Linked DNA regions of Homo sapiens: all the other regions are linked to region 1. Evidence: promoter capture Hi-C in human tissues and cell types (Jung and others, 2019). All regions are on one chromosome and are shown on one strand. Each heading gives the region's core, a stretch centred on a gene start or on the middle of the fragment in contact. The rest is flanking DNA. Distances are from core to core; before and after follow the strand shown.

Region 1 (2,929 bases), core at 136-2,635:
TCCCAGAACCAGAACCCGACTCTCTGAGAGTCTTGTCATGGTGTGATAAAGGCGTCCATCCCACTGAACTCCAGTCCCACAACTGCCTATTTGGCTGCCTTTCCATTCAGAGTCACAATCTCTTGAGAGCAAGTGAAACTGGCTCACTCGGCAGTGCCGCCCCTCCTGCTCTCCAAATCCTCCTGCACTGAGAATAACGTCTGGGCTCAAGAAGACAGAGGCGTGGCCATATCTCTTCAGGTTTGGGACCTGGCCCTCGCTACTGACTACGCTGGCAGGGAATACCCCTGAAGGCGAAGCAGGATTTACGCGAGGAAATGCCTCTGAGGATGGAAACACTAGGGTGTGGGAGAGGGTGTCTCCCCTAGAAGCTGCCAGAATGAAATAATGGGCGCACTTCAGATGCCACTCCTCAAATTCGTCAAAGGGTTCAATATTTTCCACCCGCCGGCGTTCTTCTGCGGGAAGAAAGCAGTGATAGAATTCATTCATGTCCACGGCACCGCAGGCGGTCCAGCCAGCTTGAAGGAAGCGGCGCCGCTGCGCCTCCACGTCAGGAAAACGCTCCAGGCCATGCAGGGGGGAGTTTAGCTGCCGAAAATGTTGCAGCATGAACTGGCCAAAGGCGTCTTGAGGCCTCATCTGCTCATAGACCACGAAAAGGGCATTAGGAAAACGCTGGGCTGCCCAGGCGATGAGGGCCGCGGCACTCTCCGGCTCGAGGTAGGTCAGCACCGCCTCGGCCAGGAGCAGAGTGGGTGAGGCTGCGTCGAGCCCCGCGGCGCCCAGGGCCTCCTCCACTCGCTGGAGCTGCCGCAAGTCCAGACCCAGGATGCAGTAGTCTGCGCTCTCAAAGCACAGCGCGGACGCGGGCTCCCCCCTCTCGAAAGGCCCGGTTAACGCGCACAGCTCTGGCGTCTCTCCAATCCTTTCTGCTTTGCGCCGCGCCACGTCCGGAAAATCCACCTCCCAGACTGCAGCCCGGGCCAGGCGGCCCGCGGTTTTTAAGCGAAAATAGAGCGAGTCGAAGCCAGCGCCGAGAGACAAGATCTGCGCGCGAAGCGCGGCCTGGGGCGCGCCAATCTGCTCCAAAAAAGCGCGCACGCAGTGCCTCACGGCGCGTGCGCGGACGTAGTAGCCTCGGTGAATGAGCGGTGCGCGGCGCGCCGCGCCCGGAACCAGCAACGCGGCAAAGGGGTCCTGCACGTACCCGCGCGCGGCCAGGGAACGCTTGCTGAGGGCGCTGCTGTCGTTGGTGTTCTGTACCGCGCCTGCCCGACGCTCACGGCTCCGGGGGCCCATGGCCAGAAGAGACTCAGGAATGGCAGTCTGTCACGGTTGTGAGCCGCCCCTTGGTTAGCACACACCTCACGGACCTCGGTAGGGGGAAAAAAACCACCCATGCTCCTGGACTTCCCCTTCCGCCGGCACTTGTGCGTCACTTCCGGGAAGAGCGCATCTCGCCAACCAGAATTGAGGAGGGTGTAGCCAGTGCTAAGTTCGCTTGCGGCTGACCTTTCTTTGGAATGTCGTGAGTTCCATTTGTCCCAGAATACGGTCCGCTACCGCTGTGACATGAGTGTTAGGGAAGGCGGGTTGTCACGTTTCTACAAGCCTTCCAGTCAAAAGGGAAACCTTGCCTAAGTCCTTGTAGTTGAGAAATCTCTAAGAGGTGAGTCTGTGGGGACTGACGACTTGGCTTCCTTGGACCGCCAAGGAAGGGTCTGGTAGGAGCCAAGAAGGGTCGGCACCACGGACCTTCAGTAGGCAAGGATTAGTTAGCTTCCTTGGGTGCTAATAGTTGCTGATTTATTTAATGCTCTCACAGTTGCAAAAGAGAACCCCATTTAAAACTTGAAAACAAGTCACTAAGGCCAGGGTGCAAACTGAAGAAACCGACCTTTACAAATAATTTATAGACACCTAACAAGAAGACGTTTCCCCACAGATAGTAGACTGTTGATTCCCTTGTATTCCCAGCCCTATGTTAGACTGACGGTGAATAAACCACTCAGCCTCTCTTTCTCATCACACCGCCTTGGAGAATTCTGTGGATTTTAAAGTAGTGTTGAATATGTCCCCAGAAAGGGGAGTCACTGAAGAGAGGTGATTGTTCCCTGTGATATGTTCTGAGCTTTGTTTTTAAGGAGTAAATCCAGGTTAGACTTCAGAATAATCATAAAGTTTCTAAATTGGGTGTCTGGGAGTCATCCATAGGAAACCACTTCCAGAGACATTTAGGAAATTTATCATTTGTTCACTGGGATTTGGTGACTGACTGGCTGAAATAGAAAAGGAAATCAGATAACTTTATGGTTAACTACAGGTGGTACTGCATAATGGTTAAGAGTGTGAGTTTTGGAGTCCAGCAGATTTGGATACTGGAGTCAAGAAAAAGTTTCGTATTTTCCAATGTTTTCTTGTGGAACAAAATGAAATAAGAAAGAAAAGGTTTGGATCAGGATAAAGATTCGGTAATTGAAAAGTGACATTTAGATTTGGTGTTTAAAAGCTCATTAATGGCCTTAGGGAGAGCAGTTTCTGTGGAGCAATAAGGGCAGAATCCATGTTTCAGTGAATAGGAGGTGAGTTAAAGGAGGTATCCAGTCTAAATTATTATACTTTCGAGGAGCTTAACTCAGAAGGAAAAAAGGGTCAGGGCAGTGGCTAAAGAATATTGTGGGATAAAAGAGTCTTTTGTTTTGTTTTCAGGTGGAAGCAAATACTGCACATGCGTGTTGGTCCTGTGAGGGAAACCAGCTAGTGGAGAGGGAGAGGTTGAAGGAACAGAAAAATGAGAAGACAACTCACTGGTAGAGTAACTTGGAATAGATAGAAATGGGATCCTGGGCACGTATTAGTTGTGGGGATAGGAGAATGAATCCTTTATCTGTGACTCCTGATGGGGTAAAAAAAAGATTATGGATAA
Region 2 (2,929 bases), core at 261-2,760, 760 kb before region 1:
TATTTTATAATGAACAGAAGTTTATTTGGTTGACAGGTGTGGAGGCTAGGCAGTCCAAGAACATGGTGCCAGCATCTAGTGAGGGTCTTGCCATGGCAGAAGGCACCACATGGCAAGTGAGCATGAGAAAGATATATGGGTCTAAACTTAGCCTTTTATCATGAGCCCACTCCCAAGATAGCAGCACTAATTCATTAATGAGGGCAAAGCCCTCCTTACCTAATTACTTTTTAAAGGTCTCATAACACTTTTACAATGTCAATTAAATTTCCAACACTTGAACTTTGGGGGACATATTTAAACCTTAACAGGAGGGCTCCACTCACTGAAAAGAGTCGTTCATGGTAGCTAACCTGTGGTTTGTGCTGAAAACCTGCTTTCTTCCTGGGAGTCTAGAATTTTGGTACATGGTAGGTAGAAGGTACCTACGTGACCAGCCCCCAGTAAAAACCCTGGGCACTGTATCTCTAACAAGTTTCCCTGGTAAACAACATTTCTCACATGTTGTCACAATTCAGTTGCTGGTGGAATGAAACAACAGATATGTGTGACTCCACTGTTAGAGGACTCTGGAAGCTTATACCTGGTTTCCCCCAGACTTTGCCTCTGTACCTTTTCTCTTTGCTGTTTTGCTTCATATGCTTTTGCTGTAATAAATCATAGCTGTGTGATGATATGCTGAGTCTTGTGAATTCTCCTAGCAAATCATGGAACCTGGAGGTAGTCTTGGAGACCCTGGCATACAAAGCAGTTCCTAAGTGTTTACTGGTAGCTGTAGGAATAGGCAAAGAAGAAACAGCAAAGAAAAAGGCACACTGTGGTATAACTTTGGAGGTTTACCTTGCAAAATGCTCAGATATTTTACCTATCAGAGGTTATTGTGCATATAATAGAGAGTGATATACTAACAACTGCCTCAGGATATACTCTTTTTAATCAGTATTGTAACTAACCTTGGCTTATTTTACTTTTAGACTTGGGGTTCTATTTTGCTTTAAAACATGTACATCAGTTTTGTTTTTTGTTTTGTTCTTTTCTTTCCTTTTTTTTTTTTTTTTTTTAAAGACAGGATCTCACTCTGTCACCCAGGTTGCTGAGAGTGTGGTGTGGCCCAATCTTGACCTCACTGCAGCCTTGACCTCTCAGGCTCAAGTGATCCTCCCACCTCAGCCTCCCAAGTAGCTGGGACTATAGGCACGCGCCACCACGCCTGGCTAATTTTTGTATTTTCTGTAGAGACAGAGTTTTGCCATGTTGTTGAGGCTGGTCTTGAACTCCTGGGTTCAAACGACCCTCCCGCCTCAGCCTCCGAAAGTGCTGGGAGTACAGGTGTTAGCCACTGCGCCTGGCCTCATTGTACTCCTTAACACAAGAAGACTTCAACAATGATAAGTAGTTGTTTATAAGGAAGCAGGATCATTACCAAAATAAATCCTGCTAAAACAACAGGAATCATGTTTTAAAGCCTAGTTTGCTAATTTTTGCTAGTAGGATAAGAGTGATCGTAATATCTCGAACATTACATAGACACTTAAAACCTTTAGTTGTATTTCATCAAAAATCTGTTCATACCCCACGTTGGTTTCAAAACATACTATGCTTTTTCTTCGTGTTATTTCCTATATTCATTTTTGTGTGTATGTGTATGTCACAAATATTGATATGCCTGGTTGTTTATTTTTGTTTTCTATTATGCCTTTTTCAAAATATAAAAATAAACTTGTAATTTCTAACTAAAATTTTTTAGTCCTAGTCTGAATTTAAAGTGATAGAAAGGACTGATGCACTGTTTAACTTATACAGTATAGGCATATAGGCTCTCAGAATCAAAAGAGCTTGAGGTAAGTTAAGCCTGAGGTCTACTTCAAAGAGAAAGCTAATTTAATACTCTTCCAGAGTCAATCAGTGCTGATTAATTTTTCTTTAATTATTCAACTTTTAGATGTGTGGATATTAAAAAAAAATTAGCTCTGCATGCCTTTTTTTGTTGTTGTTGTTGTTCTTGTTTTTTAGATGGTCTTGCTCTCACCCAGGCTGGAGTGCAGTGGCACAATCATAGCCCACTGCACTCTGAACCTCCTGGGCTCAATGGATCCTTCCACCTCAGCCTCCCAAGTAGCTGGGACTACAACTGTGCCCCACCACACCCAGCTAACTTTTAAATTTTTTTGTTGAGATGAGGTCTCGTCGTGTTGCCCAGGCTGGTCTTGAACTCCTGGGTTCAAGCAATCTTGGCCTCCCAAAGTGCTGGGATTACAGGTGTTAGCCCCTTGCACCTAGCCTGAATGTCTGTGTTTCCTACTTACACTAGAAGAGGTGTGTGAGATTTGCAAATTTATTGCCAGCATAACAGTGATGCCAGTTTGTGAAGACCATTCTGGAGGAATTGAGATGCTGCCTGGTTTTCCTAGCATTTTTCTTATTTTCTTTCTTTCTCTATGTGACTCTACCAGTCTGACCCCTGATTTATCCTCTGAAACCCTCAATGAAGTCAGGAACAGTCTGAGGAATAGCAGAACCTAAAAGATTTCTTGACATGCAAAATCTATAATAGAGTTGAGATTTTAATAAGACTGTAATTAGTGTATTGTGGGATTTCTTCACATATCTGTAAAACACATGAATTTACATAAAAGATTTATCTCACAATTTGGGGAATCCACTAATTGAGTTTACTAAAAAAATTATGCATTAGACCCTTGAACAATATAAGCTTGAAGTGCATATGCAATTTTTTTTTTTTTTTTGAGACAGGGTCTCACTGTCACCAGGCTGGAGTGCAGTAGTGTCATCTCAGCTCACTGCAACCTCCGCCTCCTGGGTTTGAGCAATTCTCCTGCCTCGGCCTCCCAAGTAGCTGGGATTACAGGTGCACACCACCATGCCCGGCTAATTTTTGTATTTTTAGTAGAGACAGGGTTTCACCATG
Region 3 (2,929 bases), core at 248-2,747, 610 kb before region 1:
TTTCTAAAGTGTTTGCAGGGCATTTTTCCCTCTTACCTCAGATTAAGTTATTTATATATTGTTGATTGAAGGTTTTTTAAAATTGCTTTTAAACTTCTATTTCTCGGGTAAATTTTTTGGTGACATGATATATTTAACACCCTATTTATATACTCCTACCTCTTTTCATATAAATCTCTTACTAAGACTACTGACCAAAAAAGAACATTTTAAAATTAAAAGTCCTCTGTGTACTTTATCTAGTGAAGAGTAGATGAAATCCTGCACCGGGATAGCCTAAGTGTGTGATTCGAGCTTGGCAGATTAGCTGGAGATCACCCTGGCAATACCCACTCATAGCTGTTTCAAAGATTCAGTTTACATGTATGTACAGTTTCCCATGAACTTGGCATTGCTTTGCAGGGTAAACAGCAACCAGGTAAGTTGCTCAACTATAGCCCAAGTAAGAACTAAAGGGGAGAATCCAGAACAGTCACTGCCACACCTAACAGTGACCACAGTGCCCTGGGGCTTCTGAGGCAGAGCCACCTATGGGAATCTGAGTCAGGGGATAACCAGGAGGTGACCCTGCCCGCCTTAATAGAGAAGCCAGCCGGGCATGGTGGCTCATGCCTGTCATCCCAGCACGTTGGGAGGCTGAGGCGGGTGGATCACCTGAGGTCAGGAGTTTGAGACCAGCCTGGCCAACATGGTGAAACCTGTCTCTACTAAAAATACAAAAAATTAGCCAGGCGTGGTGGCATGTGCCTGTAATCCCAGCTACTTGGGAGGCTGAGGCACAAGAATTGCTTGAACCTGGGAGGGGGAGGTTTCAGTGAGCCGAGCCGAGATTGTGTCACTGCACTCCAGCCTGGGCAACAGAGTGAGACTCTGTCTCAAAAAAAAAAAAAAAAAAAAGCAACACCAGACCTGACTGAATCAGCAAGCGAAAGATTGAGAGGGATCTTGTAGCAAAAAGCAAAAGTGGAGTCAGATTTTGGATTCATGGCGTGGTTGTCATACTTTCGCATACATCAGAATCACCTGAACGCTTTCTTATGCCCCAGGATGGGCCCTACCCCAAGTTACTGGTTTGGTAGCCCCGGAGAAGGACCAGAGAATTTGTGTTAACAAGAAGTCCCAGGGGACCCTGAAGTTTGCTGGTCTGGGGACCACATTTTATAAACAGCTGGCTTTGACAATTAGAGAGCAGACATACAGAATCTAGTTCACTGACCCACTAGCTGCCTGTCTCCATAATCCTTAGAGTAGCCTTTAAGGCTCACACAGGCCAGCAGGAAGTTTCCTTCATCGGGAACATGTTAAATTTCCATTCAGATTCCCAAGAACTTGTTTTTAACTCAGTGGGCCTTAAGCCAGGCCTGGGTTATGGCCCAGCCCTTCAGTCTCAGCATCCTTAGGGGTTTCAGGTTTTCCTCTCCTGCCCATTCCATGTCACACACCTCAGCTGGGTCCTCTGGAACAAGTCAAGGAGTAGCCACAAGCCTGACGCTGACCCTAAGCTTCCTGGGTGGGGGCGGTGCTATGGTTTAATCACACCCAGTGCTGGTCTCTGGGCATAGAAAGCTTTTTTTTTTTTTTTGAGACAGACAGGGTATCGCTCTGTAGCCCAGGCTGGACTGCAGTGGTGTGATCATGGCTCACTGTAGCCTTGACCTCCTGGGCTCAAGTGATCCTCTGACCTCAGCCTCCCAAGTAGCTATGACCACAGGCATGGACCACCACTCCTCACCAATTTTGTATTTTTTAAAGATGAGGCTTCCCCATGTTGCCCCGGCTGGTTCAAACTCCTGAGCACAAGTGATCCTCCCGCCTTGACCTCCCAAAGTGCTGGGATTACAGGTGTGAGCCACTGTGTCCGGCCGAGAAAGCATTCCTTAAAGCTTTTTTGGTTCCCAGGCATTCAGAACAAATTGGATTTAAAGGATAAAGATAAAGGCCTTTGAAAATGAAGAGATCAGGGGAAAATGGTTCAGATATAGAAACTTGTTAAAGGAGTAGCTGAGCTGAGGAGAAGGGAAAGGCATGGTGTTTGGGAGAAGTATGATCACAAGGTGGTGACTGAGGAAAACTCCCATTTTTTACTTTCTAGGTTGATGGGATTTCCTGGCTCTACCATGGTCACACAAGTGGACCCCTTTAGGTCCTCCTGAGGATTATATTATCAGTCCAACTCCTGGTTATTAATGCACATGATCACAGTAGTGCTTTTTTTTTTTCCCCTCAAAGAGATGGGGGTCTCACTCTTGCTCAGGCTGGAGTGCAGTGGCACAATCATAGTTCACTGTAACCTCTAACTCCTGGACTCAAGTAGTCCTCTCTCTCGGCTTCCCAAAGCACTGGGATTACAGGTGTGAACCTGTCAAAATCAGTGGCTCATTTATAGAGCTTGATACAGCTGTAATCGAGAAGCAATGCTTTTGCTCTGAGAAACTCCAAGCCAAATCAATCAAACAAACACCTTAGCCTTAACAAGCTTAACAAGAACACTGCCCCACCATGTGGTTCAGTAGGGAATATCTTGTGTGTGGAAACTACATTATCCTAACCCTTTCTCCCACAAATAAAGCGAGTTACACAGGAGAAGTCAGTACCACTGGCGATAAATTAAATTAATAGATATTGCCACCAGAGACTAGCCCTCTAGAGTGGAATATACAGGCATTTCTAAGAGCCAAGGTAGCTCACCTTGTAATGCACAGAGCAAAGCCACAATTACAGCGCTCCACCTACAGCCCACCCGAGACTGCAGCCTTCTAAAGGGAGAAGACAGGTGACAATGATTAGACATCAAGCCCTTGTTAAAGAAAACCAGTTTATTCTAAAAAGCTCTAAATGCCCTGTGCTTGGTCCCTGGTCAGGGAGAGGTCTCAAGAGGTTACTACCTGCACAGGGGCTGAAGGTACAGGGGGAAAGTCAGGTTTCAGTT

The links. The method cuts DNA at HindIII sites, captures the fragments that hold promoters and counts their contacts. A contact is called where the count stands out against the background at its distance.
Region 2: a fragment that was not itself captured here is called in contact with the fragment with the promoter of LCMT2 in region 1 in 1 of the 25 tissues and cell types used here (mesenchymal stem cells).
Region 3: a contact is called between a fragment that was not itself captured here and the fragment with the promoter of LCMT2 in region 1, in 1 of the 25 tissues and cell types used here (lymphoblastoid cells).

What each region holds. Positions count from the first base shown.
Region 1 is chr15:43,329,188-43,332,116 of GRCh38, forward strand. It overlaps LCMT2 (leucine carboxyl methyltransferase 2), which reads right to left and starts at 1,386. Exons shown (of 1, transcript NM_014793.5): 1 at 1-1,386. The coding sequence starts at 1,302. MAPDA (N6-Methyl-AMP deaminase) reads left to right here and starts at 1,485. Exons shown (of 13, transcript NM_001324366.2): 1 at 1,485-1,672; 2 at 2,713-2,813. RefSeq lists enhancers at 1,294-2,244, 1,477-1,526. The HindIII fragment of the contact is 18,030 bases long and covers 1-2,929 here.
Region 2 is chr15:42,568,256-42,571,184 of GRCh38, forward strand. It overlaps HAUS2 (HAUS augmin like complex subunit 2), which reads left to right. Exons shown (of 6, transcript NM_018097.3): 6 at 1-1,739. Among named protein-coding and RNA genes, the nearest start is that of STARD9, 5.9 kb to the right of the region's middle. The HindIII fragment of the contact is 5,134 bases long and covers 1-2,929 here.
Region 3 is chr15:42,720,761-42,723,689 of GRCh38, forward strand. It overlaps STARD9 (StAR related lipid transfer domain containing 9), which reads left to right. Exons shown (of 33, transcript NM_020759.3): 33 at 1-238. It overlaps CDAN1 (codanin 1), which reads right to left. Exons shown (of 28, transcript NM_138477.4): 28 at 2,784-2,929. Among named protein-coding and RNA genes, the nearest start is that of CDAN1, 15 kb to the right of the region's middle. The HindIII fragment of the contact is 4,414 bases long and covers 1-2,929 here.